Regions from separate parts of the Homo sapiens genome. Here all the other regions are linked to region 4. Evidence: promoter capture Hi-C in 16 types of primary human blood cells and fetal thymus (Javierre and others, 2016). All regions are on one chromosome and are shown on one strand. Each heading gives the region's core, a stretch centred on a gene start or on the middle of the fragment in contact. The rest is flanking DNA. Distances are from core to core; before and after follow the strand shown. Region 1 has its middle 59 kb from the start of GALNT10. Region 2 overlaps MFAP3 (microfibril associated protein 3). Region 3 has its middle 57 kb from the start of MFAP3. Region 4 holds the start of HAND1 (heart and neural crest derivatives expressed 1). Region 5 overlaps GEMIN5 (gem nuclear organelle associated protein 5). Region 6 overlaps CNOT8 (CCR4-NOT transcription complex subunit 8). Region 7 has its middle 42 kb from the start of GALNT10.

What was found. Contacts are between HindIII fragments. The CHiCAGO score rates a contact against its expected background, and 5 or more counts as called.
Region 1: a contact is called between a fragment that was not itself captured here and the fragment with the promoter of HAND1 in region 4, in 1 of 17 cell types (neutrophils). The highest score is 5.4, in neutrophils.
Region 2: a fragment that was not itself captured here is called in contact with the fragment with the promoter of HAND1 in region 4 in 7 of 17 cell types (naive B cells, total B cells, M2 macrophages and 4 more); the score reaches 9.5 in naive B cells.
Region 3: a fragment that was not itself captured here is called in contact with the fragment with the promoter of HAND1 in region 4 in 3 of 17 cell types (neutrophils, total B cells and naive B cells); the score reaches 6.6 in neutrophils.
Region 5: a contact is called between a fragment that was not itself captured here and the fragment with the promoter of HAND1 in region 4, in 2 of 17 cell types (activated CD4 T cells and monocytes). The highest score is 5.6, in activated CD4 T cells.
Region 6: a contact is called between a fragment that was not itself captured here and the fragment with the promoter of HAND1 in region 4, in 2 of 17 cell types (naive B cells and total B cells). The highest score is 6.0, in naive B cells.
Region 7: a contact is called between a fragment that was not itself captured here and the fragment with the promoter of HAND1 in region 4, in 1 of 17 cell types (neutrophils). The highest score is 5.2, in neutrophils.

Annotation. Positions count from the first base shown.
Region 1 is chr5:154,129,344-154,133,591 of GRCh38, forward strand. No RefSeq gene overlaps it. Among named protein-coding and RNA genes, the nearest start is that of GALNT10, 59 kb to the right of the region's middle. The HindIII fragment of the contact is 5,584 bases long and covers 1-4,248 here.
Region 2 is chr5:154,043,571-154,047,761 of GRCh38, forward strand. All of the region lies in intron 1 of MFAP3 (microfibril associated protein 3), which reads left to right. Among named protein-coding and RNA genes, the nearest start is that of MFAP3, 6.7 kb to the left of the region's middle. The HindIII fragment of the contact is 6,700 bases long and covers 1-4,191 here.
Region 3 is chr5:154,094,314-154,098,169 of GRCh38, forward strand. No RefSeq gene overlaps it. Among named protein-coding and RNA genes, the nearest start is that of MFAP3, 57 kb to the left of the region's middle. The HindIII fragment of the contact is 465 bases long and covers 1,693-2,157 here.
Region 4 is chr5:154,476,865-154,480,667 of GRCh38, forward strand. HAND1 (heart and neural crest derivatives expressed 1) reads right to left here and starts at 1,363. Exons shown (of 2, transcript NM_004821.3): 1 at 602-1,363. The coding sequence starts at 1,144. RefSeq lists enhancers at 1-37, 2,811-3,320 and a silencer at 3,287-3,336. The HindIII fragment of the contact is 6,833 bases long and covers 1-3,803 here.
Region 5 is chr5:154,889,230-154,893,053 of GRCh38, forward strand. It overlaps GEMIN5 (gem nuclear organelle associated protein 5), which reads right to left. Exons shown (of 28, transcript NM_015465.5): 25 at 3,158-3,320; 26 at 2,012-2,513; 27 at 92-188. Among named protein-coding and RNA genes, the nearest start is that of CNOT8, 33 kb to the left of the region's middle. The HindIII fragment of the contact is 2,720 bases long and covers 286-3,005 here.
Region 6 is chr5:154,869,344-154,873,464 of GRCh38, forward strand. It overlaps CNOT8 (CCR4-NOT transcription complex subunit 8), which reads left to right. Exons shown (of 7, transcript NM_001301073.2): 4 at 1,318-1,479; 5 at 2,387-2,531; 6 at 3,198-3,308. Among named protein-coding and RNA genes, the nearest start is that of CNOT8, 13 kb to the left of the region's middle. The HindIII fragment of the contact is 1,005 bases long and covers 2,307-3,311 here.
Region 7 is chr5:154,146,629-154,150,689 of GRCh38, forward strand. No RefSeq gene overlaps it. Among named protein-coding and RNA genes, the nearest start is that of GALNT10, 42 kb to the right of the region's middle. The HindIII fragment of the contact is 1,526 bases long and covers 1,912-3,437 here.

The sequences.
Region 1 (4,248 bases), core at 1,440-3,939, 350 kb before region 4:
GAGACAGGGTCTCCCTATCACCCAGGCTGGATGGAGTGCAGTGGCGTACTCACAGCTCACCGCAGCCTCGACCTCCCAGGCTCAGTTGATCCTCCCACCTCAGCCTCCTGAGTAGCTAGGAATATAGGTGTGCACGACCACACACACCTAGTTTTTGTATTTTTTGTAGAGACAGGGTTTTGCCATGTTTCCCCGGCTGGTCTTGAATTCCTAAGCTCAAGCAATCCACCTACCTCAGCCTCCCAAAGTGCTATTACAGGCATGAGCCACTGTGCCCGGCCAACTTCTTTTCCTGTTAAAGAATCTGAACATTTATATTTTGGGGTCAAATCTCAGAATTTTTAAATGCTGGCAACTAAACTGGAATGTTTAAAATTTCCAGGTTGACCAAGCACACGGGCTAGCTTTGGCTGTGAGATAACTGGGAAAGGCTGTGAGATAACAGATATGAAGAGCCCAGCTCAGAGACCCTACTCTTAACTTAGCATTTATTAGTATTATAGTGATTTACAATACATACCCAGTTCCCAGAGAACTCTTAGCCCAGAAGAGAAAATAGAGTACACATATATACAGATAGAACCTATGGTCAAAATTGTGAATGTGAGACTGGAGAGATCATTTCCCTAGAAAACAAAGCAGGCTACCTGGAGGAGGTGGCATAGGCATGGGTTCAGGAGGAGTTGTAAAACTCAGTGGTCCTTGGCTGCATGATTAACAGAGCATTTCATCAACTCCCTAATCTGGTGAGGTCATAAAAAATGTCATCTGATACTGTGTTCTTAGATAGAAAGCATTCACATCATAAAAATGATAATTGTCCCTAAGTTAATTTATAAACTCTAGGCAATCCTAATAAAAATACCATCAGGTTTTCCTTTTTCCCGCAGCTGAAAAAATTGATTATAAAGTTCATTGGGAAGAACAACAAATCAGAATAGTGGGGAAAATCAAAAAGGAAGAACAAAGAGGAAGGCTTACCCTAACAGATACTAAAGCATGCTATAAAGCCTCTATAAGTGAAATGAAACAGAATAGGAAAGTCAGAAAAAGACCCAATTGCATATGCAAATGTAAAATATTATAAAGGCAACAGCTCAAATCAGTGGGAAAGTAATAGACTTTTAGATATTGAGATAATTAGAGAGTCATATAGTCATATAAAAAAAGCTAAAATTGGATTCATTCCTCATGTCATTCACCAAGATAAATCCCAAATGGATCAGAAATGTAAGTGTAAGAATATGAAACCATACAAGTACTGGAAGAAAGCATAGTTGGCTTCCTCTATAGCCTGGGAATGGAGAAATCATTACTAACTGTATTCAAAATCTATAAGCAGTAAGAGAAAATATAAATTGATTTCATTCAAAAAATTTTTGTATAGCAAAAGATGTTACAAGCAAAGGGTAAAGATAAATGACCAACTGGGGATAATATTTACAGCTTATGTCACAGCGAAAGAATTCATATATCTAATATATAAAGAGCTTCTAAAATTGGAGAGGAAAAAGTTCAATAAGCCTATATAAAAATAGGCTGCAGAATTGTACCAACAGTCCACAAAGAAAGAAGTGCAAGTGGCTCTTAACCTTATGAAATATACTCAAACTTGCTCATAATAAGAAAAGTGTACATTTTAAAACTATATCTGGGGGTATAACTTCACACTTATTCAATTGGAAAAAGATAAAAGTTGGACAAATTCTCTGCTGGTAAATCTCTGAAGAAACAGTCTCTCGAGATCTGCTGGTATAAATGCAAAATTATGCAATCCCTATGGAGAAGAATTTGACAATATCTGGAAAAATTACATACGCATTTACCTTTGAACCAGCAATCCTATTTTTAAAAAATACAACAAAAAAATACACTGGTAAAATATGAAGAGATGTATGCACAAGGCTATTCGCTGAAGAACTATTTGTGGTATTAAAAGATTGGAAACAATCTAAATCTCTATCCAAGAAAGACTAATCGAACAAACTATAATATACTCATACTGGGTAACCAACCTGCTTGGTTTGTCCAGAACTTTCAATGCTAAAACCGGGAAATCCTGAGCAAAACAGGACAAGTTAGACATTCTTACAATTGAGGACTGTAAAACTGTAAAGGAGGAATGAGCACTATCTCTTTATACTAGTGTGGAGTGATCATCAGAATACATAGTTACATTTAAAAAATGCAAGCTAGAGGAAAGTATTTAGAGTGTACTACTGTGTAAGTAAAGGGTGAATATGAAACATACACAGACACACACACCTGCTTATATTAAAAAGAAAGAATAAAAAATAAACCATCACCATTATTTTAAGTCGCTAAATATAAAGAGATAAAGAGAATAGAGTAGAAGGTACAGAATTACAAGCTAGATTTCTGTGGATAATCTTGTTTGGTAGATTTGACTTGGAATCGTGTAAATATTTAATACAATTACAAACTTAAATTATAAAAAGCAATTCCTAAAAATAAAAAATACAACTTCTGCTTCAAACCGTGCTATAATAACTGGGTTTGGACCAGCCCTTCCCCAATTAAGAAATATTAAAGTAACTATTTTTAAATGTTGCAGTTGTGCAACATTTAAAATAGTTGCCCTGGCTTTCTACTAGAAGGCACCGCTCCAGACCACACAACGCAGAGAGGTGAACTTCAAGCAGAGCATAGAAGTTCTGCAGAGATGAGCAGGCACAGATTAGAGTTCAAGGCTGCTAAGCCAGTTGGAATTGCAGGTCTGGGTACCAGACACGAAGGACTTGCGCATAGAAAGAGCTCTGAAATCTGCATTGGTAGATGGGGGTCCCCTTAGGTCTTTAGCCAAATGTAAAAAATAAATGCACAGGACTAGATTCTGCAAAGGCTGGCAGAGAACAGCTACAAAGGAACTGAAAGCTGAATGCAGATTCCAAAGTCACAGTTCTGGGTGACATATGAGTTCTGATTGTCCAGAATGGAGAGATCTGCTAACACCCTAAGCATTCATTCAACTGAGATTCTAGAAAAGCCACAGCTTAGAGTATAGGGCTATTCTAGTTCCAGAGAAAGAACTAATTTAGACACATCTTTACAACGCTTAAAAAAACACACACACAAGACTTTAAAGGATGAGGCTTTTGATATGCTAGCAAATTAACTGCCTGTTCCCCACCCCGACCCCCAAAAAACTCAAACTCGTTAAAGGAAGACATCAAATTCCAGAATCTGAACAACGTAACATCCACGATATGTATCTTATGATTAAAAGTTATTAAACATGCGATCTAACAAAAAAGGAGACTATAACCAGGAAAAATAAATTATCAATAGTAATCAAAGTTAAACAAACTTTTTGTTTCCAATAAACATGGAAACAAATCAATAAGATAATTTCACATAGAAATAACCGTTTTAAAGAAAATTTTAAAACAGAGTAATGGCACAACGACTGGCAAGGAGAAGAGGATCAGCATTGATTGAGTGAGGAAGGAGCCCTGAGCGCTGAGACCTGAGTGGCAAAAAAGCCAGTTAGCAAAGGTCCAGGGGAAAGGCTGCCAGCAGAGCTGTGAGCACAGAGGTTCTGAGGCGGGAATGGATGATCTTGGACTGGCAGGAGAAAAGGTCAGAGGAAGCCAGGTAGGGAGGCCCAGATCATGAAACTGTTAGTCATGTTAGGCTATGGTTAAGGGTTTGGGTTTTGTTTTAAGAGCGATGGGAATAGATTCTAGGGTTTTAGGCAGAGGAGTGGCATGACCTGATGGGCATGGTTAACAGCTAGCTCTGGCCACAGTGTGGAACACGGATTTTCAGGGAGGCCTGGAGGCCAGAAGGCCAGTTAGGAAGCTGTGCCAATGTCCATGCATGGGAGGTGATGTGTTCTGAGTTTAGAGAAGCTCTGGGGACTGAGAGAGCAAGTGTGTGCATCTTCACAACAGGGGACCTGATAAATAAATCTATGCCACATCCCTGAAAGATTCTGCAACCACAGCCACTGTGCAGATCTGAATAAACTGCCAACGTGCATTTTGAGCAGAAACAGCATATTGCACAACTGCACAGATATTTTATGAGCCCAACTATGTAAAATTAAATACTCATTTCTGTATCAGTTTATCTATATATAAAGAGACATCTGGGAAGATACCGAGTTGTCAGTAATTTTTCTGGGAAGCGATGTTTTCTGTTGCGTTTTGTTTTTGCTTTTTTCTTACTTTGTTTAAAATTTCTGAGTGAAATTTTTTTCAGTGAGTATATATCATTTCTACAAAA
Region 2 (4,191 bases), core at 1,691-4,190, 430 kb before region 4:
AAGGAAAGGTAATAAAAAATTTTATCAAGTAACTTCATCCACAAACATAGTATAGCCCTTTTTAACTGATAAGAAGAAGGTGACACTTTGGTTTTCCTTTTTGAAATCTGTTCTTGGGTTTCAAATGTCAGCTGCTACATTAAAAACAGCAGGCATAATATATATATATATATTTTTTTTTCCAAATACAAATGCACGTACTCTTGTGTCTCCCATGGCATCTAATATACCTGCCTTAATGACCTCAGCCCACTTAACTGATTTGGTGAACAATTCTGCATCTGAGGCTGTATATGTGAGGAAAAATTAAAGGATTGGAAATGAAAGTAAAATAACTATAGTATAAAGGATCATATGTTCAAAGCATGCAGGCCTAATATTATAGGAAGTCCCAAACATATAAGTGAATTGCATTCCTAGAACTGACACATTTGTCTTTTCTCTGTTGCATTCACAATATAATTACATTTCAGTCACATTGTCTTAGATACAGTTGGCTGTTTCTGGGCTGTCTTTCAAGCTGGTTTGTAAATTCCTGAGGGTCTAGGACAGTGTCCTAATTCTCCTTAGCAACTCTTGCACCACCTACTGTACTTCATCTTCCACGATGGATCCTTGACCTAGCTGAGCTGTAGTTTTAAAGTCATTAGTCTAGAATGAGCAGAATGGTCATAGTCAATGCAGTTTGTGCTGCAAGTAGCAGAAACCCATTCAAGCTGACTTAGCAAAAAGGAGACTTAGTGTGAGGAAATAATAGTACCCTGATACCAAGGATGATTTGTTCTTCCCTCACTATTTTTTTCTGCTTTGTCACCTTCTTGGACACGTATCTTTGCCAGTGTTTTCTCTCACAGCTGCTGAACAGCCTGTTACCTGCAAATGGGTTATATCCGTTAGTCTTTCAAATCAGAAGTCCTCTGTGTTCAGGATGTACATGGTATGAGTGAAGTGCCCAGTATTAACTGGATGTGTAAGGCTATTGTGCAGCCTCTTTCTCTTGTGGCTCAAAATCAGTGTGCCAGGTTTCTTCTGCCATGTTTGGCCTAAGAGCAGTTTAAGGGAGTTTATAGTGTTTTCCTAAATCCTGTCTGGTAGGTAGAGGCAAATGGCTATGTCTGTACAACACAAGAACCACAAATCTTGGCCACATGGGCAGTTTGCTTGCCACACTCCACTGTGTAAGGAAGAGACTAGAGATCTATGATGAAGATTGCCTGGCAGCCACAGACACAGTTCAATAACTTTTTGTGAACTTAATCTTTTTTCTCCTGCCTAACCATTTCCGCATTTATTACGTGTTTGCACATTCATCTTCACTTTTGTGGTTTTAATTTTGAGTAAAATTTAATAAAGTTGTTTCTTTTTTTAAAAAAAAAAAAGGGTCACAGGAGTGCCAGGAAGTAGAATTCTATCAGGCACCAAAGCACCATGTATGAGTCTCTCTTTGTCTTTCTCCTGCTCCTCTTCCTGTCTTCCCACTCTCTCCCTTCCCCATCCCTCTTGTCCTTTCTTACAGCTTCTCCTTGTATGTGGCCCAAACCTGACTGCCTCAGCCCCCACATGCCTCCTTTTCCTCAAATGACCCTGACCCACAAGGGTCTCAATTCCAAGTTCCAAGAACAAAGATTCTATTAGCTTACTTTGCCAATAGGTTGTCTTCCTCCTAGACCCAAGAAGATAGGGATAGGGCTCAAAGAGGGGAGCCGTTGGGTAAGTAGATCACGACAAATCTTCTCTACCACAAACTGAGGACACATACAATGTCATATCATGGTTGGGATCCAAGCTCAGTTTACAATGCCTATATGCTCCATAATATTGCAAAATATTTGCAATGAGAAAAAGAAAAATGTGAAATTTTAAATTTAAGATTAAAACTGCATAATGGTGTCCCCTTCCCCCCAACCCCCAAGATTTTTAAATGGTTGCATGGTATTCTGAGTGTTTTATAATGATGTAACTATCAAATGTAAATTTTAGTTCAATATCTGAAAGAACCATGAACAATAATAATAGAGCTTATTCAGTGATTACCATTGCCAGACTCTGTGTTTTATGTATACTACCTCATTCAGACTTTGCAATAATCCTGTGAGAATAGATTCTGTTATTTTGCCCATTTTAAAGATGAGGGGCTGAGGCAGGGAGATTAAGTCATTTATAAAAGTTGCAAGGCTGGTTAGAGTCACAGATCGTATTTGAATCCTATACTCTGAACCTCTCTGCTACCCTGCTCTTATTAGAGACCTTCAATTTTGCTGATCTAGAGTAATCTAAATCTAGAATGGAATGTGAGTGATTATATCTCTCATTGGAAATATTCAAATAGCCTGAAGCACCATTCTGCAGGTCAGTTGCAGAGGAAATTGAGGAACTGTATTAGTGGCCCTTAGATGCAGTACATGAATCCAATGCCTCAGAAACACCCAGGGAGCCAATTAAAAGTCATAAATTCCAAGGCGCAAACACAGAGTTTCTTACTCGTTCTGGGTTGGGACCTGGGAATCCATATTTTTAAAAAGCTCTCCTGACAGTTGTGATATTCAACCTGGTTTGGAAACTGCACTTGGTGATCTTTTATTCCTACCATTATCCTCTAGGACAACATGGTAAATGAAGGTATCAGGTTGGGAGTCGGAAGAATGCATTTAATTAGGTACTTTTAAGGTCTTCCAAGATTGTTAGCATTGACTGTTTTTGTTTCAGAGAATTTATAATAGGCAACTGTATGTCAGTTTGAACAATTATAATCCCTGTTGCATAACATTATTCAATTTATAAAGATCTGTCACATACTGAATCAAATTTAAACTAATCTCCATCAATATTTATTGAGCATGTGCTAGTTATGACGTACAGCAATAAAAAATATAGGCCTTGTTCTTAAGGGGTAGTTGAGATGGGATAGACTGCCTAGCAGTACAGAGCAGCATATACCAGCGCCAGATGAGTACGGTAGGTGGGGAGGGCTCTGGGGTGAAGGAGAAGCCATCCTTTATACAGCTATACTCTGAATTTATGTAGGAGGAATAGCTAAGGCCTTGATAGGAGGTTCAGGAAGTTTGCGGGAAGGCAGAATTCCATGTGGGAGTTATGCTTTGCCAAGCCTTGTGTTGGTGAGGACACTCATTGCCCTGCAGCCCTCGCCTGTGACAGCTGTTCATTCTGCTGAAGTTCCTGAATCTCAGAGCAGGAAGACCGAATCCATTTCCTTTCTTTCCAGTTTCTTCTACACTAGCTACTTTGATCCTGGGGGGATGTGACCATACCCCCAGGTGATCTGCCCACGTTTGAGCCTCTCAGTTGTTTGACGTCTTCATCATGGACGAATATCTCCCTCACTCACTTCAGCCACTGCAGCTTCCGGAGTCTATCTCCAGTTTCACCATTGGCCCAGTTAGTTCTCCTCCAGAATCAGGAATCAGACGCAGCATTTTTGGCCACTGCCTGTCTTTACCACAATTTTTTAGCTGTTTTTTGTGAACAACTCCTGACCAGTGACCCCTCTCATTTTTCCCTGTCTCCTGGCCCTCTACCTTGAGTGCTTTCCTCCCAATTTTTATTCCTCTTTATTCTTCAGGTCCTGCACCTGAAGAATAGGTGCTGCACACCTCTTTTTCTCAGAGGCTTTCCATGATGAGATTAACTCCCCATGTTGGGTCCTCCTGTAGCATCTGTATTTTCCCTTGGGTAACATTGAGTTTATTTTGTATATATGTAGTTAGTGTCCATCATCTGCCAGACTGAACTTCGTGGAGGCCGAGACAATGTCTATGGGGCAGTAGGTAGGCACATGGTAGGTGCTCAATAGATACTGTTCAGTATATGAAAATGTATCCCTCCGATCTCAAACTCAGTGGTGGGGAAGAGTAGAAAGGAAGGAGATGGCAGGTTAAGAAATGAGGTGGCATTAAAATAAACTGGAGTTGTGGGGGGCTTTTTGTTTTGGTTTTGGTTTTACTACAGAGAGAGCAAGCCTCCAGCTCAAAGCCTTTCAGCAGGCAGTAGTATCTCTGGAAGCTAATAACACTTCTTTGTTTTCATTATGTTTATGTGTACGGTTACATTTGTCCACAGAACTGATGTAGAGTTTCCTTTTTAAATAAATGTGAAAGTAAAAATAAAATGAGTTGATTTAAAAGAAAAGCAGAAATGACGATAATTTGGTTCATGGATATAGTAAAAACAACA
Region 3 (3,856 bases), core at 675-3,174, 380 kb before region 4:
CAGCTTCAAATTTATGAACTCTCAATGCAGGTTTCATTGGTTCCCACTAGGTAACATTCTCATTCCTAAATCAATCCCCTGGGAAATGCAATTCAGTAATGGGTTTAAGTCTGGTCTTAGGTTCCGCACCTGCCGTATGGCAGTGGGGTGATGGCTATCCATGCTTGAACATTCCTGGAATGTTCTCCAAGCAAAAGCTCAGAGAAATGAAGGTCATGTTCAGGGAACAGTGAGGTCAGAATAAAATTGGGATGAAAGGCGAGGGTCAGATTAGGAAATATCTGAAACTTCAGCCTAAGTAATGTGCCTTCAAGGAAGCTATAGATTGTAAAAATTAAAAATATATACCAGGATAAACAAACTATGGTACATCCATACAATAGAATATTACTCAGCAAAAAAAAAAAAAAAAAGAAGAAGAAGAAGAAATGAGCTATCAAGCCACAGAAAGACATAGAGGAACATTAAATGCATATTGCTAAGTGAGAGAAGCCAATCTGAAAAGACTATGTACTACTGCATGCTTTTAAATATATGACAACTGGAAAAGGCAAATCTATGAAGACAGTGAAAAGATCAGTGGTTGCCAGAAGTATGGGGAGAGGAAGGAGGGGATGAATAGGTGGGAGACAGGGCATTTTTAGGGCTGTGAAACTTTTCTGTATAATAGTATAAGGTAGATACATGTCATTACACATTTGCCAAAACCCACAGAACGTGCAACACCAAGAGTGAATCCTGCTGTAAACTATGGACTGGGTGACTATGATGTGTCAGTGTAGATTCATTATTTATAATAAATAAACCACACTAAGGCAAGATGTTAGGGGAAACTGAGGTGGGGATAAGAGAGTATATAGGAACTATAATTTCTGCTCAGTTTTTCTGTAAACGTAAAAATCTCTAAAAAATAGTCTATGAATAGTAATAATAAAAGAAAGTGGGAGAAAAATGCAGACCACTTTGGTTTAAATCTGGGTTAGGAGCTTACAAGTAGGGAGCTCTTAAGCAGGTTATTTAATATCTCAGCCTCATGTTACTCAGCTGTAATATGTACTTATTAGTACCCAACTCATAGTGCTGTTGTGAAAAACAAGTTAATGCATGAAGCACCTGGCATCATGCAGCAAGCACTCATAAGTGTTAGGCTTGGGGGTTGTTGGGGAGGTGTCTTTTGTTTTCTGTAAACACTCAAGAAACCATTGAAATTTTCTATGCTGGGAAGCTGATGTTGAGGACTGCCTGTAGAATAGACTGTCACTCAGAGAAGTTAGGGTCAGGAAGATAAGTTAGGACATTATTCTGAGAGGAATGTGGACATTGCTGTAGAGATAGGGGAGGTAATGATGGAAGAAGTGTTGATTAATGGGGAATATGAAGAGGAGCCTTGGAAGGAGAACAGGGTGCCTTGAATGAAGACCAGAAATGTTGGGGTTTGGGGGAGTAAGCACTGGAATCTTAAACTGATGAAAGAACTGTCTGGATTACTGAGATCATTTACCCCTTCCTCTCCAGCTCAAGATAGTCTTCGTGGCTGACTGCCATACAAGAATCCTAACATCATTTCCTTTCTCCAAAGCAGAAAGTGGAGTTTTACACAGAAATTTACCTGCTAGCTACACTGCTGCCTTGACATTTTAAGTGGTACCTGCCCTTCTGCGTCAGACATTTCCCTCAAATGAGAAAGTGACAAGCTTCCCTAATGGGCGTTTGTTCGAATGTTCAACCAAGTGAGAACTCGGCTAGAGTGGGGAAATCTGGCGCCTGCTGAAGACAAAGGGAACATCAGCAACAAATATATTCAGAGCAATTATCTTGGGGACCTCCCACCCAGTGTCCCCTCCCTTAGCCAAGCAACATCTTCAGGAGGAAGGCTGAGCGCTGGCTGTCGTGCCTCCTCCCTGCCTCCTGCTGAGTCACCATAGCAAATTGCAGCAGACAAATAGAGCAGCCTCAAAATTGGCAAGATCAGGTCCTAGGGAGCACAAGCATTGGCCTTTTCAATTTGAAAATTTGAAAATTTCAATTTTTAAGACAAATTGGCATAAGACTCTCATAGAAGAAAGAACAGTAAAGGTCGTGTGGACCCATCTTGCTGTCCTGTGATTGAACCCCTTCTGTCATGTTGTTGCCATGTGGTTCCCTAGCTATGCTTCAAGCTTACATCCAGGGACAGGGAGCTCACCACTAAAACAGGGCTACCTGGTTAATTCAAGGGCTTAGAGCTAACCCATTAATTTTACAGCTGGAGAATTCAAAGCTCCATGAGAAAGTGCCTTGCCTTTAATTGCCAGATGAGCCAGGGGCTGACCTTCCCATGTATTCTAGAACCCCTCCTTGAGCACGTTTACCAGGCAGAACATGATGGTTAAAAGGTCAGGTTCTCGTGGTGTCTGGCAGACCTGAGTGCAAAACCAATCTATTGCCCTCGGTCAAACTATTTTTTCTTTTTAAGTTCCAGGAGTTTTTTTTGACTAAAATATAGGGACAATAATTGTACCTACTTACTGGTTTGTCATAAGGATTACATGAGAAAATGATACAGCATACTTATCATACAGTGCCTGACACATAATACACGAGCAATAGTGGCAACTACTAAATATAATTGGTACTAAATTTGCTTATGTTTACCTACCATTCCAGTTGAGTATTAGAAATCATATTTACCGTCCTGACCCTGGACTGCTCATTATTTTGTTCTGTGTAGATTCCAGGGTCTGAGAGAGAGCCAAGATGAATATGGCCTTCCAAGAAGACATGCTGACAAGAAAAGACTCAGAGTGCCCAGGAGCTTCCCCTTCCTACCAACCCTGCAGCCTGGAACCCTAGCCATACCTCTCCCTGACTGTGGACAGTACAGCCTTTGAGCTGAGCCAAGCTGCTCCCCTGGCGATTTCCATAAGAGTACCACTTATCAGCACCTTGGACAGCATACAAATGATTCTGCATCTCCAGGTAAGGCAGGTGTCAGTTCCTTGACATGATATAGGGTTGGTGGCAGCAAGAAGGGTTGCAGAAATCTTCTTTCCCTGTGACCAAATTCCTAGGGAAATTGCACATACAAGGGAATAAAGCACTCAAACTGAGAATAAAACCTCCCGTATGTCTGGTTTTTATTCTCCACTTCCCACAGAAAGCCCACTGCTTATTAGAAATTTGGGATACAAAAAAACAAATAAGGATGGTATTCATTCCAAAGAGAGTGATTGGAACCAAGTAGGTGCATTTCACAGGACTGGCTGATTTGCCAGCTCCGTTTCTCTGGCATTGTTACAATTACAGCTATTCTTGGGGATGTAATTCATTATGGACCCCATTATTCCCAAGAATCAGAGAAGAGCAAAAATCAAAGGTTTATCATCTGGCTGTGGCATGTAGAACACAGCAGGCTACCTGTTGGGCACATCCAGGTGGCAATCAAAAACCAGAGCTCAGGGACAAATACACATTCTGCTGAGCTCTTCCGTCTACCCAGAAGAAATGATGCTATTTGCATCAGGGAAAGAAGGTTGCTGGCCCTTCTGTCAGCCTTCTGAGCAATTTTTAGTCATCTGGCCAACAAAGGTTGAGCTGCTGCATGTAAAAAAGGGGGCATAGTCACCTTCACTCCCAGAGCTCAGAGGAAGAAGGACAGTTACTACTATGTGCCAGCATTGTGTTCAACATCTTATATGTGTAGGAGTGGTGTTATTAAATTCCATTTAGCAGAAGACAAAACTGAGGCTCAGAGAAGTTGTTTAGGATTCTTTCCATGACAGAACCCAATTTTGACTGGCTTAAATAAAAAAGAGAATACGTTAGCTCAAGTAACTCAAAAGTCTAGGGGTAAGTTGGTCTTCAGGTATGGCTGGAT
Region 4 (3,803 bases), core at 113-2,612:
GCCACTGAAGTCGTCCTCAGAACCAGTCCATGGGGAGAACCAGAACTGGCCCTGGACTGAGTAGAAGACCCGATCTGTTTTACCTCACCTCCACCCTGGACTCCTCAGATAGGTGCTTTTCCTGCCCCGACCCACTCTGGGCCCTCAGTTTCCCTATTTATACAATGATGGAAGTAGACTAGCCGGTCCAGCAAAGGCCCTTTGAAAACAGGAACCGAGCCCGGGCACATAAATTCAAACTCAAAGTAAAGAACTTTAACACATATTCTTAACCTGGCTTCCAGGAGAGCCCAGGAATGAATCAGGACTTCTCCAAATTGGAAGCAAAACCTGTGGTGTGTGCATTTTTGGAGGGTCCGAGGCTCCAAACAGATTATTCACTCAGTATTACAAACACTCTCCCGTATTACAAATGAATTCTATGACGAATCTGCCTCCCTCCATGCACAGGATCGCACGCTGTGACCAACCATCTCAGAACTCTTCCCAACCTTTCCAAATCGGACACAGGACAACACAGCCTCCTTCGACTACCTGCATGGCCTGAGGCTGCTCACCGCTCCTGCACCCTTGGCTGGAGCATGCAAGCCCCAGGACTCACCAGCTCCCTTTTCCGCTTGCTCTCACGGCCGCCATCCGCCTTCTTGAGTTCAGCCTTGAAGGCCTCGGGATCGCCAGACTGTGCATCCTTGGCCAGCACGTCCATCAGGTAGGCGATGTAGCTGGTGGCTAGGCGCAGAGTCTTGATCTTGGAGAGCTTGGTGTCGGCCGGCACGTTGGGGATGCACTCGCGCAACTCCGCGAATGCGCTGTTAATGCTCTCAGTGCGTCTCCGCTCCTTCTTGGGTCCTGAGCCTTTCCGCCGGCCAAGACGGCCGCCAAGCGCCTCCAGCCGCCCGGGGCTCTGCCCAGGCCTGGCGTCAGGACCATAGGCGGTGGCGGCTGCAGCGGCCGCGGGCGGCGGCCCGCCCGCAGGGAAGTCCGGGGCAGCGTCAGCCGGGCTCAGCAGCCAGCTCTGGAAGTAGGGCCTTTCCTGATGACAGCGCGAGGCCGGACCGAAGAGGAAGGGTTCGTGGAGCATGGGGTGCGCAGGGTGCGGGTGGTGATGGTGGTGATGGTGTGCGTAGCTGCCCACGAGGTTCATGTTGGAGCGGCTACTGGCCTGCGCCGCCAGCCCTATTAACGCCGCTCCATGCGCCCCAGAGACTGCCGGGGGCCACCTGTGGGCTCTGGAGCCACTACTGGGCGCCGGCTTTGGGAGAGTCCGGGCAAGGCTGAAAATGAGACGCGCAGCCCACTGTCTTCTTACCGGTTTCTGCCGCGGGCGAGGTCGCCGAAGCCCAAAGACCTGTTTAACCCTTCTGCGGACTCCCCTGCGGATCTGGCTTATATAAGACCGCGGCTTTGATGTCAACCTCTCCCGGGAGCCAATGGCAGGGGGGCGGGGATAAGGAAAAGGGGGAGTGGCTATCCCAGGTTTTACGCTCAGCCCGCGCCACTCTAGTCCGCCAGCAGGGACTGGGAACCGGCCCCGCCTCTGCCCCTCCCACTCAGCTCCCTGCTCTGCGGGCTTAGGGGGGCGGGCTGCTGGGGGTGTTGAGGGGGCGGGCACGGGGACTACGTACTTGAGGCACAGGACGGCCAACGCCCTGGACTGTTGCTGCCACCCCCTCCCCACGGATCCAAGGAAAGGAATCCAGAATCACCAAGCGAAAAGAAGGCCTACACCTAGAGCCCGCCTTTTGATTTTACAGACAAGGAAACTGAGGCCCAGGGAAAGAAAGGTTCTTGTTTCTAGACTGTCTAGAAGTCTAAATAGGAATTCCAGCAGTTCCCAGTCCCGAGCTCCAACTGCTCTGCTCGGCGTCAGAGCTAGAAGATGAGAGGGCGCTGCTGAAGACAGGATAGGCCGCTAACGTTCTTCCCTAACACCTTCCAGCCCTCCGCCCCCACCCCCACCCCTTAGTCATCGGCCCTTTCTGGAGAGACTGGGAGCCGCTTGTGCACGGGGTCGTTACCAGCCCGCCAATTCTGACCCAGCCTCAGGCAGACGGGCACGCAGCTACTGACCAGCGAAGAAGCCTTTCGGAGGCAGGGGTAGGGGTGGGGCGGGAAGGAGGAGGCGGACTCCAGGCCCACGGGCATCGACGGGTTTGTTCCCGGCTTGAGGGTCTGAGATCCACTCCGGCCTCCCGGGTGCCTGATCCATTCCGAAGGCCAGCCCGGCTGGCGCAGAGACAGTCTGGCGTCCGCCTTGGGCCCGGGGCATCTGGCCAGCAGGTCTCCTCTGGTCTGTCCGCAGGACTCGCACCGAGACCTGGGAGCGCGGCTACGTCGGGCCGCTCTACCCAGATCATCACTCCTTAAGAATCTTTGGTTCTTTAAAGACACCGGCCCCGAAGCTCACACCTCGAGACACCAGCATTCGGCGTTAGACACACGCAGAGGGGACCAAGACTGCACAGCATCCGCGAGGCTCGCACAGGCAAACGCGACGTCCGGCATCTCTCACGCATCAGCGCAGAGGCGCGACTCGGCTGCACGACCCTCCGAGATTTCACCCCGGGGGTAGGGCCATTCCCTGCCAGCCGGACTCTCTCCACTGTGGGCTTTCCCCAGGCTCGCGTTGGAATCTGGGAATCCCGGAGTGGTGACGCTTCAAGCTGGGGACTCTCGGTCTTACCTCCCGCTGTGGTTCCTTTCTTGGCCGATGTCCACCTACCTGGGTCCCTCATTCTCTCAACCTTTCTCAGCTCAACGCCCCCTCCCTCGGTGTGGTAGAGGGAGTGTGCCTCTCTTCAAAGCAAAGTCGAGGGGAGGGGGAAAGGAGAAGTTAATGTGAGTGCTCTTTTTAGAAGGCAAATCATTCACCCATTCATTCAACAATTATTTATTGATGCCTACTATGTGCCTATCATAGTTACTAGTCCAAAGACAGAGGGAGAAAGGCCCATTCTCTCCTTGAACAGATATGGAACGTGAAGCCCAGAGAAGAAGAGCGATTTTCTCGAGGTCCGGTAGGGAGTGGATGAGTGGAATTCCACTCCTGGACAAGAGAGTGAATGAAGGGTGGGGGGTTACATACAGGAGTGACGGAGACAAAAGCCTGGGCCTGCTGGTTCCACCTGTGGGAGCTCAGCAGGGCTGTGGGCCCTGGAGGTGCATGGGGGGGTGGTGCAGGGAGGTCCTGGTTTCCTGCCCGAGGCGGGCTGGAAACCCCCCGCTCTCCCCGGCGCCTGGCGCCAGCAGCGCTGGGGTAGGGCAGAGCGCGGAGCCGGAGGCACGCGGGGAGGGAGCGCTGGGGGCCCGCTGCTGCGGCGGCTCTGCGGGGTCCCAAGCCTCCCTGGCCTGGAGGCATTCTAGAAAGAGCGCAGGTAGAGAGTAATTACGCTGTGGAGAGAAGGACCTCAACACACAATCCTCAACACACGCCCAGTCTTTGTCCTAATCCAAGTACAATCTGCAACAGTGCCTCTCAGAGCGGCACACTAGGCCCTCAGATTATACATTCACAGGTACATGCACAAGGGCTCACAAAACCTTGCCGCCGTACACAAAAGCCCGTATCTTCATAAGACGCCCAAAAGTATGTGTATTCTCACAGTAATACGCACAGCCACGGTACACACAGCATTCATGCATTCCTAGGATTTTACACATTGTCTCTCTGTCACCCACAGGGTACATACTCATCACGCTTCAGATGTGTTACACCTGGGAGCCGCTCCCAATCCTCCATTCAGGCATGCACAGAGACCAAAGTCATATGGTAGAAACACATAAATTCTGAATACTACACAAAT
Region 5 (3,824 bases), core at 396-2,895, 410 kb after region 4:
AGAGAGGTAGCTGACCTTTATAAGAATGTGGTATAGTCAAGTGATAACACAAAAAGTGATGCTTTACCAAATGAACTGCTTTAACTCTTACCTTAATGCTCTCAGGAAATTTCGCCATTCTCTGATTTGCCTCGGTAAGCCTTTTGGTTAACTCAGGCAGAGAAAGTGGCTCATTTTTTTCTTCTTTACTAGTGAAAAAAATAAAAGGTGTAAATTGTATGTCTTGCCCTGGGTAACATTTTTCTCCCATTGTTATTTTACTGTGGTAAAATGTATATAACATAAAGCTTACCATCTTAGCCATTTAAAAATACATAGTTCAGTGATTTTAAATAAATTCATAATGTGGTGAAAAACATCCCCACCACCCATTTCCAAAAACTCTTGTCATTTTGTAAAACTGAAATCTTATACCCATTAAACATTAACTTCTCATTCTGCTTCCCTTAGCCCCTGTCAACATTATTCTACTTTCTGTCTCTATAAATTTAACTATTTTGAGTAGTTCATATAAGTGGAGTCATATAGTATATGTCTTTTTGTGACTGGCTTATTTCACTCAGCATGATGTCCTCCCTTCGTAAGGCTGAATGACATTCCATTGTATGGATATGGCACATTTTGCTTATCCATTCATCTGTCAGTGGATACTTAGGTTGCTCCCGTGTTTTGGGTATTATGAATAATGCTGCCATGAACACAGGTGTGCACATATTTCAGACCCTGCTTTCAATTCTTTTGGGTGTATACCCAGATGTGGAAGTGCTGGATCCTATGGTCATTCTATTTTACATTTCTGGAGGAAGTGCTGCTGTACTGTTTTCCACAGTGGCTGCATCATTTTACATTCCCACCAATAGGCACAAGGGTTCCAATGTCTCTGCATCCTCCTCAACACTTGTTCTGTTTCTCTGATAGTAGCCTAATGGCTATGAAGTGCTGCTTCACTGTAGTTTTGATTTGCATTTCCCCAATGATGAGATGTTGAGCATCATTTCCTGTGCTTACTGGCTTTTTAGAGAAATGTCTATTCAAGTCCTTTGCCCATCCTTGAATTGGATTATCTTTTGTTATGCCTGGGTAGCTTTTACCTTTTATTTTTAATATTTTTTAAAAATTTAAACTTTTGCCTATGACACAGCCCTCAGGAGGCCCTGAGAGCATATGCCCCTGCCTGGGTTACTTTTATCTCATTTTATAAATAAAATTCCTTTGTCACCTGGCTTCTTAAAATTTAATTTTTTTTTTTTTTTTTTGTAGAGACAGGGTCTGTCAACCAGGCTGGTATGAGTGGCATGATCGTATCTCACTACAGCCTCGAACTCCTGGGCTTAAGTGATCCTCCCACCTCAGCCTCCTGAGTAGCTGGGACTACAAGTGCATGCCACCACTACTGGCTAATTTAAAAAAATTAATTTTTCTAGAGACAGGGTCTCAATATGTAGCCCAGGCTGAACTTGAGCTCCTGGCCTCAAGTGATCCTCCTGCCTCAGCCTCCTAAGTAGCTACAGGGTACATGCCACCACACCTGGTTACTTTATTTGTATTTTTTGAGATGAAGTCTCCCTCTGTTGCCCAGGCTGGAGTGCACTGGTGCGATTTTGACTCACTGCAACCTCTGCTGCCCAGGTTCAAACGATTCTCTGGCCTCAGCCCCCCAAGTAGCTGGAATTACAGGCATGTGCCACCATACCCAGCTAATTTTTAGTAGAGACGGGGTTTCACCATGTTGGCCAGGCTGGTCTCAAACTCCTTACTTCAAGTGATCTGCCCACCTCGGCCTCCCAAAGTGCTGGGATTACAAGCGTGATCCACTGTGCCCGGGCTTTTTTTTTTTTTTTTTTTTTGTAGAGACAGGGTCTCGCTTTTTTGCCCGGGCTGGTGGTGAACTCCTGGGCCAAGTGATCCTCCTGCTTCAGCCTCCCAAAGTGCTGGGATTATAGGCATGAACCACTGTTCCTAGCCAGCAGGGTCATTTTTCATTCCGTCTTGTACTTGCCTCAGTACTTACCACTGGCTCTGAGAACTGCAGAGGGGCTGCTCTGCTTCTACTTCCGGTTCATTCTTATCAGGACCATTTGCTGTGGATTTACAGAGTTGACTCTTTTGGTGTTGTCGGATCATTTCTGCCAAGGTCTCTTGGACTTCAGCAACAGTTCTCTGTGAGTTTTGGAGACTGGCATGCTTTTCTGAAAAGAGCTCCTTAAAAGTACTCAGCATTCGCTCACCTTCTTCTGTGAGTCTCAAGTCTAGTTCTGAAGGCCTGTTTGGCTCTGGCTGAGAAGTTTCAGGGTCCGTTTCTTCAGTGCTGGCAGTGTCTAACTGCTGGCTTGGCTCAACAGAGAGTGTTCTGTGACCAGCCCTTACCCAGACACTGGAATTTGGGCAAGGTCTGGAGAGAGACCACCAGAATTCATACAGACGCCCATAAAGAAAAAAGGCCTCCAAACTTTTGAAAGCTGGTGTGGCAGGGGATTGATGGTCCCCCAACTTGTCTCTTAGGTGGTCACAGCCTAGGAAAAGAGGAAAAAGATACTGGGTCATGCATTTCTCTAGTTGCCAGAAATGTGGCTTCCTGCCCTTATGTTCTATTTCTTATCAACCAAGAAGCAGACCCCAGGAAAAAGGACAACAGTGTGATCCACCGGGCCACATGCCTTTCCACCAAGAGCCAACTGGAGGCTAAACATTTCCTGGCTTGCGACAGTGTTCTCATTACTACATCCTAGGAGTCATTCAAAGCATGATAGAGTATTCCATTTGTACTACTGAAGGCTCTGGGGCCACGACAACAGATCACACTGTCTCTCTGAAAAATCACAATGATTTAGTTCAGTGACTGACTATGCAGCCCAAGGAATGTCTATCTTTTTTGCTGTTCTTTTCTGTTCTTACTAACATGTAACTACATTCCTATTTCTCTCTCCCTTAAACTTTGTGGAAAGTGGACAGGAGGCTGTAAGAGGGTAGGGCCAGGTAAAGGAAACAGTATAGTTGTTCTTAAAAGCTTCGGTAAGAGAATCCAAACTTTCTACTAAAATGACACAGCTGGCCAATCTCCATCTTTTAAGAATCTAGGTACTCCCAGTGCCACACCACTAATGGTGGTGATGTTGTCCATTAAAGGGTGTGCCTCAGGCAGCAGGAAGTCACTTACCGTCAGGGAGAAAGGCTGAGTACACTTCCTGCATGATGGTGAAGCTCCCTGAGTCATAGCTCCGGACCACCGCCCGAAGGAGCGCCTGCACAGCCTCGTCCCAGGAGGCCATCTGTTGGCTCAGCACTGCCAGGGTCAAGTCATGGCAAATGTGAAGCAGGAGCTGGAGAGAGAAGCCAGAGTCTGAGTTAAACATCCTCCCACGGTAGGCGCAGAGGATGCCACCAAACTGTTCCTGTGAACCGCATTTGGAAACAAGTACACACAATTCACACTTTGAAAGTTCCTCTTGTCTCCGCCACCCATTTTTGCTTCCCACATCGGAAACTCTCATGTCTAGTTGCACAGCAGCACACACACGTCCCGGTGTTAAAGTCTGTTCACACTGAGAAAACACCTTTACATTTGCATTTAATTAAAACAAAAAGTGGGCCAGGCGCGGTGGCTCATGCCTGTAATCCCAGCACTTTGGGAGGCCAAGGTGGGCAGATCACAAGGTCAGGAGTTCAAGACCAGCCTGGCCAACATGGTGAAACCCCGCCTCTACTAAAAACACAAAAATTAGCCAGGCATGATGGCGCGTGCCTGTAGTCCCAGCTACTCGGGAGGCTGAGACAGAAGAATTGCTTGAACCCGGAAGGTGGAGGTTGTGGTGAGCTGAGATTGC
Region 6 (4,121 bases), core at 1,559-4,058, 390 kb after region 4:
CCCGACCTCAGGTGATCCACCCACCTCAGCCTCCCAAAGTGCTGGGATTACAGGCGTGAGCCACCCCACCCGGCCTTGTTGGTTTTTTTTTTTTTTTTTTTAAGTTTATTTATTTTTTTGAGACAGAGTCTTGTTCTGTCTCCTAGGCTGGAGTACAGTGGCGCCATCTTGGCTCACTGCAGCCTTTGCCTCCTGGGTTCAAGTGATTCTCATGCCTCAACTTCCTGAGTAGCTGGGATTCAGGGGCATGCCACCACGTCCGGCTAATTTTTGTTTTTTTGTGTTTTTTTTTTTTTTTTTGAGAGGGAGTCTCGCTCTGTCATCAGGCTGGAGCGCAGTGGCGCGAGCTTGGCTCACTACAACCTCTGCCTCCCAGATTCAAGTGAGTCTGCTGCCTCAGGCTCCCAAGTAGCTGGGATTACAGGCGTGCGCCACCACGCCCAGCTAATTTTTGTGTTTTTAGTAGAGAGAGGGTTTCACCACGTTGGCCAGGATGGTCTTGATCTCTTGACCTCGTGATCCGCCCACCTTGGCCTCCCAAATTTCTGGGATTACAGGCATGAGCCACCACGCCTGGCCTAATTTTTGTATTTTTGGTAGAGACAGGGTTTCACCATGTTGGCCAGGCTGGTTTGAACTCTGGGCCTCAAGTGATCTGCCTGTCTCAGCCTCCCAAAGTGCTGGTATTACAGGTGTGAGCCACCATGCCCGGCCTACTTATTTTATTTTTGAGACAGGATCTTGCTCTGTCACCTAGACTAGAGTGCAGTGGTGTGAGTCCCCTCCAGTTCTTGGCCTCAAACAATCCTCTCACCTCAGCCTCCGGAGTAGTTAGAACTACAGGTGCATACCACCATGCCTGGCTAATCTTTGTTTGTGTGTGTGTGTGTGTGTTGTTTTTTTTTTGTTTGTTTTGTTTTTTTTGAGACGGAGTCTCACTCTGTCACCCAGGCTGGTCTGGAACTCCTGGTCTGAAGTGATCTTCCTGCCTTGGCCTTCCAGAGTGCTGGGATTACAGGCGTGCACCACTGTGCCTGGTGTTATTGGTTTTTTTTTTTTTTTAAATAATGAGCAAATGTATACCTATTATAATTAGGAAATTTAGTTTATGGAGGAAAATCTCATTTTTCTATCTGTCACAGAAATATGATCTACTTTGCATGCTTGTTTGAATGTTGGAAAGAGTGAATTGATCTATTAAGTTAGGAAAAGCATTTCAAAAATACTTGTACTATAATTATAAGGTGGTGGTAATAGTGTGGCCACTACTTCTGTTTCATTATTCACCAGTTAATAAATAAACACCTTGTTTTTTAGAGAGGACATGTACTCCCAGGATTCCATAGATCTCCTTGCTAACTCAGGACTACAGTTTCAGAAGCATGAAGAGGAAGGGATTGACACACTGCACTTTGCAGAGCTGCTTATGACATCAGGAGTGGTTCTCTGTGACAATGTCAAATGGCTTTCATTTCATAGGTCAGTCCTAGGGAATGTGTATTTCTCTCTCACTTTGGGCTACACTGAAGCAGGGAATTGAATTCTTAGTCATTTTTGCAGTCCTAGTGACTGTTCTGTTCAGCAGCAGCAGCCAGAAGTTGAATTGGTGCTTGTTGCCCATGTTTCAGTTTTTCACAAAACACTGGGGCTCATATACTGGTTTGTTTCACACAGTATTTGGCTCTATCATGTGGCTATCAGTGGGTTTAATTCCAAGTGGGAATATGGTGGGTGTAGAGGGTCACAGTACTTGGTTATCTTTTAAATGGCTGTCTCGGAGTTTCTTAGGTACTTGAAAGCCAGATTCTCCTTATTTTAACTTCTCAGTACTTTTGGATTTTTGGTGAATCGAATCTACAATTAAACCCCTTGGGTACTTTTTTATATCTCCCATATTAGTCTGTTAGGTTGTTATTAGAAAGTTCAGATTATAGGCCGGGCGCAGTGGCTCACATCTATAATCCCAGCACTTTGGGAGGCTGAGAAAGGTGGATCACCTGAGGTCAGGAGTTCGAGACCAGCCTGGCCACCATGGCAAAACCCTGTCTTTACTAAAAATACAAAAATTAGCCAGGCATGGTGACGGGTGCCTGTAATCCCAGCTACTTGGGAGGCTGAGGCAGGGATAATTGCTTGAACCTGGGAGGTGAAGGTTGCAGTGAGCCGAGATCGTGCCATTGCACTCCAGCCTGGGCAACAGAGTAAGACTCTGTCTCAAAAAAAAAAAAAAAAAAAAAAGATTCAGATTATAGTACGATAAACTACTCAGAAAAAGTGAAAGTTCCTAACATGAAGTAGCATTTACAAGCTTTGAGAAATAAAATGGTTGAACACTGGGGCCTGATAACCACTGCTTTTTTAACCTCTGTGGTTTATTCTCTTGTAGTGGCTATGATTTTGGCTATATGGTAAAGTTGCTTACAGATTCTCGTTTGCCAGAAGAGGAACATGAATTCTTTCATATTCTGAACCTTTTCTTCCCATCCATTTATGATGTGAAATACCTGATGAAGAGCTGCAAAAATCTTAAGGTATATGATGTTTTTCTTAATACCAGTAACAAAAAGAAGGACAGAAAAAAAGCTGACTTTGCTTTATTGTTACGTGTTCAGCATGCATTTTTGAGTACTAGATGCTAGTGTGGTGGTAGACAGGGTATAATATAAAGCTGATTTGGTCAGATATTTGTGTGGTAACGATCTTTAACCTGGCCATGAAGGGAACCCTCTGCTTCTGTCATCTTAAGGCAGGCATTCTTCACTCGAGGGCCATGAACCTAATGAAAAGGTATAAATGCTGTTTGTTAGGGATGGGGTCTGTGGTATAACAGATTCTTAGAGGAGTTCTTAACTCTAGAAAGTTTTAGAACTTGGTACCGTAATAAATTGTTGACATAGAGCTTTGCTGTCTAGAATTAGAGTGGGATTTACTATTTCCTCAGCCTTGCAATTCTGATTTTAATGGCAGAGTTCTGGAAAAATTAACAACATGGAAAGGAGCAAAATGTAGGATGTAGCACAATATAGCGTCTGGAAAAAGGGAATAAAAGAGCTAAAAAGAGGTTACTAAGGCCTGTTAAATAAATGGCCTGTCCCCACTTCTTGCTAGAATTCAGTGAACTCATAACTGCACTTAGTTGGCTCCAGTAGGGGCATGTTGGGTTTGTAATATTATCTTTGTTCTCCATACATCTCCAGGGAGGTCTTCAGGAAGTTGCTGATCAGTTGGATTTGCAGAGGATTGGAAGGCAGCACCAGGCAGGCTCAGACTCACTGCTGACAGGAATGGCTTTCTTTAGGATGAAAGAGGTAAGCTTCCTTGAATGTGATCACAGGCCTCTCGGCAGTAACTTGCTGAAGGCTAAGGAGGTAGTGGATGGTCTGTTATGTGGGCTGAGGTTTGTTGAACATTTATTTTTTATTTATTTATTATTTATTTTTTTTGAGATGAAGCCTTGCTCTGTCACCCAGGCTGGAGTGCAGTGGTGCGATCTCAGCTCACTGCAACCTCCGCCTCCCGGGTTCAAGCTTTTCTTCTGCCTCAGCCTCCTGAGTAGCTGGGATTATAGGTGCCCGCCACCATGCCCTACTAATTTTTGTATTTTTAGTAGAGACAGGGTTTCGCCATGTTGGCCAGGCTGGTTTCAAACTCTTGACCTCAGGTGATCTGCCTGCCTTGGTCTCCCAAAGTGCTGGGATTACAGGCATGAGCCACTCTGCCTGGCCGAATTTTTTGTATTTTTAGTAGACACGGGGTTTCACTATGCTGGCCAGGCTGGTCTCGAACTCCTGACCTCAGGTGATCCGCCTGGCTTGGTCTCCCAAAGTGCTGGGATTACAGGCGTGAGCCACCACGCCCAGCCACATAGACTGTTTTTTTAGCAAGTTGATGTCCACTTTGAAAGTGGTTGTTTTTTGTTATGGTATTCTGCATGTCACATGTTTGAGAGGCAAAAGCAGCATTCTGACGTGAAAGCCACTTTCCAGTAACCAAGTATTCTTGAGCACACCCAAGTCCAGAACTTCATGTTCTTGTCAGCTCTAATCCTTTCAGTTATTTGCTTTTTTTCTGATTCCTGTAATAGAAATATATTTGTTAGGCCACCTACTGACATTATGGTA
Region 7 (4,061 bases), core at 1,425-3,924, 330 kb before region 4:
GCTGGGTGCCAGTTTCAGGTCAGCTGCTAGTATGGAGCTGGTACTTAACCAAATAGAATCAGAGAATTGCCAGTATTAGAAGGGGCTCTGAGACTGTCTGTCTCATATCCTTTTACAGATAGAGACATTGAGTCCTAGAGAGAGAAAGGGACAGAAACCTGCTGGTAGCAGGAGCAGATCTCCTATACCTCCCAGCTCAGTGACATCCCCACCCTGGTTTTGTCAAATAGGAGCTGCGTATCCCTGGGCAAATCTGTTTCCTTTCTTTTCTTTCTTTCTTTTTTTTTTTTTTTTTTTTTTTGAGATGGAGTCTCACTCTGCCGTCCAGGCTAGAGTGCAGTGGAACGATCTCAGCTTCACTGCAACCTCTGCCTCCCAGGTTCAAGCGAATCTCCTGCCTCAGCCTCCCAAGTAGTGGGATTACAGACACCCACCACCATGCCCAGCTAATTTTTTTGTATTTTTAGTAAAGACGGGGTTTCACCATATTGGCCAGGCTGGTTTTGAACTCCTTACCTCAAGTGATCTGCCTGTCTCAGCCTCCCAAAGTGCTAGGATTACAGGCATGAGCCACAGCGCCCAGCCTGTTTCCTTTCTGAACTTCAAATTCCTTACATATAAAATCAAATAATTTAGACCAGAACAGTAGTTCTCCACCATGACCACACATTAAAATCATCTGGAGAGCTGTAAGAAATGCCAGTGTCTGGACCCACCTGAGACCAATTCTTCATAGTCTCTAGGGTGGACCTGCTCATGAGTGGTTTATAAAGCTCTTCAGGTGATTCTGAGTTGTGTCCAGACTGAGAACCAGGAGACTAGATAATCACTACGTCTCCTTTGCTCTAACAGTTTTTTGTTTGTTTGCTTGTTTGTTTGTTTCTGAGACAAAGTCTGGCTCTATAACCCAGCCCGGAGTGCAGTGGCACAATCTCGGCTTACTGCAACCTCTGCCTCCTGGATTCAAGCCATCCTGCCACCTCAGCCTCCAAAGTAGCTGGGACTACAGGTGTGCACTAACATGCCTGGCTAATTTTTGTATTTTTTTGTAGAGATGGGGATTTCACCACATTCCCCAGGCTGGTCTAGAACTCATGAGCTCAAGCAATCTGCCTGCCTTGGCCTCCCAAAATGCTGGGATTACAGGCGTGAGCCACTGTGCCTGGCCATTGCTCTAACATTTTATGAGTTGAGAACTCCTCTTCCTGGAACCCTCTGTGCATCATACACTCCCACTACTTCCCACTTACCCCCAACTCCCATGTACACTTACCCCACAATTTATTTGAGCAGTTCCTCAAAGTTCTTGCTTAAATATCCCTCATTACACTGAGTGAGGGAGACATTACCTAAGTTCTTCCCTTCTTATAGCCGGAATCACACTTCATAGTAATTATATTTTATGGCTATCTTCCCTGTAAACTGAGTGACAGTAGAGACTGGTATAGTAGACCTAGTACTCACATCCATATGTAATCTTCCCATCCCTAGAGTGTGGCAGGGGACTGTGACTTGCTTCTAATCTATGCAATATGGCAAAGGTGATGGGAGGCCAGTTCTATGATGATATTATGTAAGATTGCAATGTCTGTCTTGCTAGGCTCCTTCCCTTGCTAGCTTTGATGAAGCAAGTGGCTATGTTGGGGAGGACCACATGTCAAGAAACTGAGAGTGGCCTCCAGCCACAACTAGCTAGAAATTGAGGCTCTGAGGCTCTTAGCCTCATAGCCTGCAAAACCCAAACCCTGCTAACAACTACATGAACTTGGAGTTAGATCCTCCGCAGTCAAATCTTTTGATAAGAACCCATCCTTAGCTGACACTTTGATTGTAGCCTTGGAGAGATCCCAGTTAATCTGTACCCAGACTCCTGATCTAAAGAAACTGAGATCATAAATGTATGTTATTTTAAGCTTCTAAGTTTGTGGTTTTATTGTTATGTGGCAATAGATAACACATACACTGAGCCTACTTCATTCAACTACTGTATCCTTGCCATCTGGCACAGTACAGCTATCCCTTGGTATCTGCAGGGGATTGTTTCCAGGACCCCCGCAAATACCAAAATCTACAGATGTGCAAGTCCCTTACGCATAGTCAGCAAGCACAGTGGCTCATGCCTGTAATCCCAGCACTTTGGGAGGCCAAGGCAGGAGGATCACTTGAGCCCAAGAGTTCAAGACCAGCCTGGGCAACATAGGGAGACCCTGACTTTACATACAATAATAATTATAATAAATAATTATAATAACATTAGCTGGGCATGGTGGTGCACACCTACAATCCCAGCTACTTGGGAGGCTGAGGTGGGAGGATTGCCTGAGCCCAGGAGTACGAGATGGCAGTGAGCCATTTGATGGCACCACTGTATTCCAGCTTAGGTGACAGAGTAAGATCCTGTCTCAAAAAAAAGAAAAAAAGGAAAGGAAAGGAAAGGAGGAAGGAAGGAGGAAGAAAGGAAGGAAGGAAGGAAGGAAGGAAGGAAGGAAGGAAGGAAGGAAGGAAGGAAGAAAAGCTGGATGCAGTGGCTCACGCCTATAATCCCAGCACTTTGGGAGGCCAAGTTGAGTGGATCACCTGAGGTCAGGAGTTCGAGACCAGCCTGGCCAACAAAATGAAACCCCATCTCTACTAAAAATTCAAAAATTAGCCAGGCATGGTGGTGAGCACCTGTAATCCCAGCTACTCGGGAGGCTGAGGCAGGGGAATTGCTTGAACCCAGGAGACAGAGGTTGCAGTGAGCCGAGATCGCTCCACTGCACTCCAGCCTGGGTGACAGAGTGAGACTCCGTTTGAAAAAAAAAACCAACAGAGAGAAAGAAAGAAAAAGAAAGAAAGAGAGAGAGAGAGAGAGAGAGAGAGAGAGAAAGAAAGAAAGAAAGAAAGAAAGAAAGAAAGAAAGAAAGAAAGAAAGAAAGGAAGAAAGAAAGAAAGAAAGAAAGAAAGAAAGAAAGAAAGGAAGGAAGGAAGGAGGGAAGGAAGGGAAAGGACAGGAAAGAAAGAAAGAAAGAAAGAAAGAAAGAAAGAAAGAAAGAAAGAAAGAAAGAAAGAGAAAGAAGGAAGGAAGGAAGGAAAGAAAGAAAGGTATTTACTTATAACTTATGCATATCCTCCCAAATACTTTAAATCATCTCTACATTACACATAATATCTAATACAATGTAGATGCTATGTAAATAGTTATACTGTATTTTGGTATTTGAATTCTTTTTTATTCTTGTATTATTTTTTAAATAGTTTTGATCAGCGACTGGTTGAATTCGTGGATGCAAAACCTGTGGATACAGAGGGACAGAGGCCTACTGTACATGGCACATGGTAGGTATTCAAAGATATTTGGCAAATAAATGAATCAATTAATTGATCAGAGTAACAACAATAAGTTCTTTGAATCCAACATTTGCCCAACACTTTTTCCTTTCTTCCTCCTGGTCACAAGCTTATGTCTCAAAATTCAATGTCAGCCCACTAAGTGAGGACTGGGCTCTAAAACCTTTCACTATTAGGAAGGCAAGTGGAAAGCACACACTGTTATTATGATGATTATTGTCATCCAGCCTTAATGAAATCGACGTGTGGTTAAATAACAGTTTGCTGAGTGTAAATTGTTATTGTTATTGATAAACCATTTCCTTTACCTGACAAATGCAGTGCTGTACTCCAGGCAAGGGAGCAATCCCTGCTGTACAGACCCATAATCATTCCAAAGATGCAGAGGATGCCATTGACCCCATGGGCCAGGCTTGGGATGACACAGCCCTCAGTTACAAACCGCACTTGGACCCTTGGCTACACTGTCTTGGCTTTTGGGCCTGCTCAGGACAACTGCTCAGAGCAAATTGCCATAAGGCGCAGCTCTGCCTAAGCATTTACTGCTGCTTTTATCCTCTGAACAGCAACAGAAACTTTCAAGAATAAAAAGCAGAGAATACATCTACTTTTCCTGCTAAAGCTATGGCTGATCTCAGGCTGCTTTGGCTAGTTTTCACTGTGCTTTGACAGGGCCAGGACTCTATAGGCTCAGGAACAGCTCTGTGAGATTATTGGATTTTCCAAGGTCC